2 separate regions of the Homo sapiens genome follow, and region 1 is linked to region 2. The links are contacts of gene promoters, found by promoter capture Hi-C in blood cells and fetal thymus (Javierre and others, 2016). All regions are on one chromosome and are shown on one strand. The core of a region is centred on a gene start or on the middle of the fragment in contact, and the rest is flanking DNA. Distances in the headings are between cores, read along the strand shown.

The links. The method cuts DNA at HindIII sites, captures the fragments that hold promoters and counts their contacts. A CHiCAGO score of 5 or more calls a contact.
Region 1: a contact is called between a fragment that was not itself captured here and the fragment with the promoter of TMIGD1 in region 2, in 2 of 17 cell types (M2 macrophages and M1 macrophages). The highest score is 7.4, in M2 macrophages.

The regions. Positions count from the first base shown.
Region 1 is chr17:30,196,630-30,199,637 of GRCh38, forward strand. It overlaps SLC6A4 (solute carrier family 6 member 4), which reads right to left. Exons shown (of 15, transcript NM_001045.6): 15 at 1-1,901. The coding sequence ends at 1,827. Among named protein-coding and RNA genes, the nearest start is that of SLC6A4, 38 kb to the right of the region's middle. The HindIII fragment of the contact is 729 bases long and covers 1,256-1,984 here.
Region 2 is chr17:30,332,365-30,335,647 of GRCh38, forward strand. It overlaps TMIGD1 (transmembrane and immunoglobulin domain containing 1), which reads right to left and starts at 1,693. Exons shown (of 7, transcript NM_206832.3): 1 at 1,636-1,693. The HindIII fragment of the contact is 5,890 bases long and covers 1-1,918 here.

The sequences.
Region 1 (3,008 bases), core at 370-2,869, 140 kb before region 2:
ACACGCTGGCATTTAGATCACTTCCTTCTTTCAGCATGCTAGACAGTAAAGAGAATGGGCATGAGGTGGCAGGAAGAAGGAAAGAGTGAAGATAATGGAGTTAGGTCAGTGAGGGATATTTCCTAAATTCCCCACTTCTTTTCCTCTAGCAGTTCTGGGAAACTTCTCAGCAGCTATCATATAAGGAAAGTATCTCGCTAGGAGAAGCAAAGAATCAGAAATAGCAGGGCATGGGGAGAATGCAGGAAGTGGGCCAGGGTAGACAATGCTGGGGAAAGGAGGCCAAGGGAGGAAAACCTAGAATTGGACAGGATGTTTCCTCTGCTGTCTGGACCTTCTTTTTATAAGGTTGTTAGAATTAAATTTCATTTATACAGAGAACTGAAGTGATAGGTGGCCAGATGATTAAGTCCTTTTGTCTCTGATGAGGATTTATTCCCCTCAAAATTCTGATAAGGAATTCCCATGCTGCAAATATTAATTTGCTCCTCTACCTACGCCTCTGAGAGTCACGAGACACCAAAGGCCAAATTTACTTATCTATATTAAGGGCCTTATGTGAAATGAAAGGTGATTTACTTAGCTGACCATTTCCCAAGCAGCCTTACTTAGACTCAACCTTAAAAATTATCTGGAGGGCTCACAATCGTGACCGCCAGCGAGCGGCGAGGTCCACGTAAGGCTAACCCAGACTCTCCAACTGCTCTTGGAGTGAAGATGCCTTGGTTTAGGTTAGGGTGCCAGATCTGTATAACCCAGTGCTAAACGAGAATCCGATTTACCCTCCTCTCTTCACCGAGCAAAGCAACCTGGACAGTCAAACTCAGTCACGTAAGGCAGACAGAACTTAAACCAGAGGGCCAGGTGAACACTGAAGGGGCATGTGACAAGATCCACCTTCAACGTACTTCACAGCCAAGCCATGGTGACTAATGAAATAGGCCAGATCTGCCTGTGGAACACTGTCCTGAATGTTTAGCACAGAGAGACAGGAAGGTGGCAATGAGGTGCAGCAAACGCCAGAGGCTGGCCTGTAAAGGAAAGTGTGTGGCTCAAGTAGTGTCACTGGAAAAGGAGTGGGTGGCAGAGCATGTTGTAGTGATTGTACCCTTCAAATAATAACCTCCATACACAATTGAGTTGGTAGAATTTGTTAATGTAAGAAAAATTTGGGGAATTCATATATTTGTAATGGGCCCAAAATATTGGACTAGAGATAAGAATACACTGAAACAACAATATACACAGACTCACAAGCTTGCATGGACACACTATTTTTCATTTTAGCTTCTTACATCTTCCTTTCCTGATGCCACAGCAGCACATGGATTAGAAGGTTCTAGTAGATTCCAGCAATAAAATTATATATGCTACTCAGAAAATATATGGCTAGCGAGATAGCATCCCTGTTCTCTCCTACGCAGTTTACGTATTCATGAACAGTGAAACCTTTAGAAGCAAACAGATATCAGATACCAATGATCATACCAAGAAATGATACAGGAGACTTTCACAGACTTGATTCTAAACCTAATCCTAACTGATGATAGGGTGGTTTTCATCACCTCCATCCACATCCTCACACGTCCAAAATAGGCCAGCTCAGCTGTGTCACAGTCTACCATGGGAATATGTCCAGGGGAATCCATGGAAATAAGTGGCTGGAGGCCTTGAGTCTGGGCACCAGACTGTGTCCCTGTGGAGAAGGCCCTTCCATCATCAGGCTTAGCTGGAAACTCATTCACTTGGAGGGGAGAAGGCAGGCGTGCCTCATCAGAACTGGAGGAGGAGGTTGTGGAGAAGCCTTTTTCCTCTCGGTGAGTGTGTTACACAGCATTCAAGCGGATGTCCCCACAAGGAATTTCTGTTGGTGTTTCTGGGGTAATACTTTTAATAATACGCTATTGGGAAGAAAATACAATGTTATAAACATCCTTGTAATTTTTAAAACTTGCAAAAATAGTCAACATTAATATTAAAACAAAGCTTAAATAACACTTTAATAACATCTAAGAGCGAGTTGGAATAGTCTCACTGACATTCCTTAGGAAAAGAATTCCCAATTTATGTATTCTCAAATATGAATTAAAATGGTATATTCAGAAACTATACACATCTGTAAACTAAGAAAATCATTATAACACTAATGGAAGAAAATGATGAGCCTTCAACAGAATCTCTGCTGGCCAATAACATGCTTTTGAAGGACTTGGGAAAGGGTACCCTTTTCTCTGGACAGAGGAGACTTCTGCGGCCACAAAGGGCTTGGGGAGCAGAGTAATTGCTGGGTTTTGGCCCCCATCCCCTCACCCAGGCTCCTTGTCTCCTGCAGACACACTGCAGCCATACTGCCCAGTGCTATCAGCCACTGTAACAGCCAGGATGTTACTAATTTAATGAATTCACCTGTAAAGCAATACTGGTTAGTTCATATGAGAGTATAAATTATCACATAGTTAAACTGTAAAAGATGCGATTATTGAAATCATCACTTCTAATGCAACATTGTGTTGATGTAGTACTCATCACAGAGAAGTGGCTGAGAAGGTCTACTATAGAAACAGCTGAGGTACACAGAAGCTTTAAGATGGATCTGAAATATACTTGGGCTTAGGTGTGAAATATACAACTGGCCTTGTAAAACTCAGCATCAGAGTGGCAAAAAGCAGCTCAGGGATATAGAGGAGAAAAAAAAAAAAACAGCCACACTGCAGAGGCTTTGAAAAATCTTTATTAAGTTGCTTAATAAAATCTTTGTTGGCCAAAAGTCTGTATGTATCATAAGCAGACAATTTGGATCTGAAAGCATCCTTTGATTTACTGATCTTTAGGTGAAGTTCTGCCCCTGTCATTTTTATTTTGGACTGAAAATGTCTGGAGTTGCCTTCAAGCTTTTCTATTTTCTCATTCTGGGAGTTTGTTCTTTAAGAAATAGGGCCTCTATAATTCAAAAAGTTCCAGTCCTACAGTTAATGAAATGCACTATAGGGCAAAATGCACAAAATTGC
Region 2 (3,283 bases), core at 443-2,942:
AAAACCACAGGAAATAGGCTATGACAGATAGAGCAGCGTCAGGGTGCCCTGGGGAAGATGAAACCAGTCTTCCCTAGAGAAACTGATAGAATTTCATTTTAGCAGAATGAAACTTGTCTCATTCTCAGACAGTCCCTACTGAACAAAGTAATTCTTGTTCTGAAAGTTTTTCTTGGGTCATTTTTGTAAAGATGTTCTCTGATAATAGAGAGTTTTTGAGACTACTCCAAATCCCATAGATTCAAATGGTGTGTACGTAGAAAAGCCTCAATTGAAACATGGCCTCTAGTTTAAACCATGTTAATCTTGTCTTTCTCCCACTATTCTCTCTCTCTCTTCCCCTTGACCCAATGGACTAAAAATAATAAATAATAAAGGTGTCCTTTCTCCCTTCTTGCTTTTGCTTCAACTCTCCCTCTCCCTAAGATATTCTCCATTTCCATCTGGGAAAAAAACATATATTCATTACTTCCTTTCAAGAGTACTACTATAAATATAGCGAACCACATACGGAAAACTTTCTGCGCAACAGGGACTGTGCTAAACACTTTACATACATCATTTCAGTCACAATTAAGCCTCCTAACAACCCTCCTGAGGTCGTTTCTATAGATTTAAAGAGACTATGTAATTTGCCTGAGATCCCACAGACAGTAAATGTCAAGGTCGGGATTTGAACCCAGACTCCCAAGACCATGCTCTTAACCACCCTACTCTCAACCACCCTACTACCCAATCTACTGCCTAGATTAATATTCTTTTCCTTTAAGAAGCTGCTGTTAGGCTGGGTGCAGTGGCTCATGCCTGTAATCCCAGCACTTTAGGAGCTGAGGCAGGTGGATTACCTGAGGTCAGGAGTTTGAGACTAGCCTGACCAACATAGTGAAACCCCATCTCTACTAAAAATGCAAAAAAAAAAAAAAAAAATTAGCCAGGCATGGTGGCGAGCGCCTGTAATCCCAGCTACTCGGGAGGCTGAGGCAGGAGAATTGCTTGAACCTGGGAGGTGGAGGTTGCAGTGAGCCAAGATTATGCCACTGCACTCCAGCCTGGGCGACAGAGTGAGGCTCGGTCTCAAAAAATAAAAATAAAAAATAAAAAAATAAAAAAAAGCTGCTGTTAATCTTTTCCAGTCCCTGGCCACTGGGAGTTCTCTCCCCTTAACACCAGTATTAATTTACAAGAGCTGAAATATACCTATACCTACTCTACTCCTCCCCTGTCCCAGGCGTGCCCTGACAGGAGTAAGTTTCATTCATGCCAGGCTCACCCTTTCTGGCAGACAAGCCTGCATCAATCTTTTCGTAAGATGCAATTACTACTAATATTGATTCTTTTGTAATTTTAAATATTTGCCAAAAAGATTTCTATCACAGTGTTGTAACAGTGATTACTGCAGAATGTGGTCAATAGTAGAGTTTTCTCAAGCGCTCTGCACTACAAGTACTCAATAAAAACTGAGAGTGCAGGCTTCTTGCCAGACCTCACCCAGCCCTATTAAGGGGACAAATCTATGTCTTCTCTTTCCCTCCACTCCACCGAGACAGCAACTTTTCAAAATGTATTCCCCTCACTTGGCTTGTTTTTAATCTGTATGACTCTCTACTTTCTATATAAGACAGTCTTACCACTTACCTCTTGAGCTCTGAGAAGCTGACTTCCTTGGCCAACTGTTCCTCTGCCTGAAAACCCTAAATGCTTTCCCTGTTACAATCCTTTATAATACTTGAATTTGAACGCTTTATGACAGCAGGGTCAAATAAATAAGATAACTTGGGTTCAAAGTCTGTTTTTCTTTATGGAGTCTTAGAGAAGATAGTAATTGGGAAAGACATCTTCTTAAGATCTAAGTTTCTATGTCTACCTCGGTTACTAGGTGGGGCCGGATATTACTAACAGGGATGTGTTGTTCCAAGAAAGCTTGAACTTGTGCAAAAATCTGTAGCGCATCTCACTGAATATTGTCATATTTAAGTAAGATGGCTGCGTTTTGATCATCTAGCCTGGGGATTGTGAAGGGACGAGTCCAAAGAGAAGTTTGACTTTAACAGAGGTCAAAACATTGGAAGATTCTACACAACTTAAATAATGCTGGAAAAGTCTTAGTTACCACTAGTAACCCAAGCCCAGTGCATAAGCTGTACCAAGCCAGGCATGGCAGGGAGCCGTTTTTTTGTTGTTGTTGTTTGTTTTGTTTTTTGAGGCAGGGTTTCACTCTGTCACCCAGATTGGAATGCAATGGCACAATTGTGGCTGACTGAACCTCTGCTCCCAGCCTCCCAAGGAGCTAGGACTACTGGCGTGAGTCACCATGCCCAGCTAAACTTTGTTAATATATATATTTTTGGTAGAGATGAAATTTCGCCATGTTTCCTAGGCTGGTCTCTAACTCCCGGCCTTAAGCAATCTGCCCACCTTGGCCTAGGGAACAGTTTTATCCTCTTGAGGCTCTCACCTGATTGGGAGATCCTTGCATTACACTATGTTTATGGTATTGTTAACGATGCAAATTTTATCTGCCAAGTACTATTGTTCCCATTTACACAAAAATATAACAGAAGAATATTTATAGTTATCTACACATTTTAACACACTGCTGAAGCACACCAGCAATCTGCCTCTTACTAGCTATGTAACTTTGAAAAGTTATTTAACCTCCATGAGCCTCAGGATCTTCATCAATACAATGGAAATAGTAATAGTACCCTCCCTACGGAGTCACTGTGAGGATTAAATGAAATGAAGCATGTGAATCTGCCGCACAGTAAGCTCTTGGTAAACAGTAGCTCTTATTACTATTATTATTAATATAGGCTGAGCAGGGCATCCTAAATCAACACAACCTCACTATAGCATTGTTCAAGCAAAAATCAGAGCTAAGAGCAGCTCCTGTTGGCTGGGTTGCAAGCACCACCCAAACAGGTTTTGAGTTTGCCTCTCCAGGGATCCAAGATTGTCATTTTAAAATGAATTTAGCAATGGAGTGATGTTTTGGTTCTTGGTGCCTCCAAAATAGACCCTGAGACAGAGCTTTGAGTGCCAATAGTTTATTTAAAGGTGATCTCGGCCGGGCACGGTGAGTGGCTCACTCCCTTAATCCCAGCACTTTGGGAGGCCGAGGAGGGTGGATCATTTGAGGTCAGGAGTTCGAGACCAGCCTGGCCAATGTGATGAAACCCCGTCTCTACTAAAAATAGAAAAATTAGCCAGGCATGGTGGCGGGCGCCTGTAATCCCAGCTACTTGGGAGGCTGAGGTGGAAGAATCCCTTGAGGCTGGGAGGT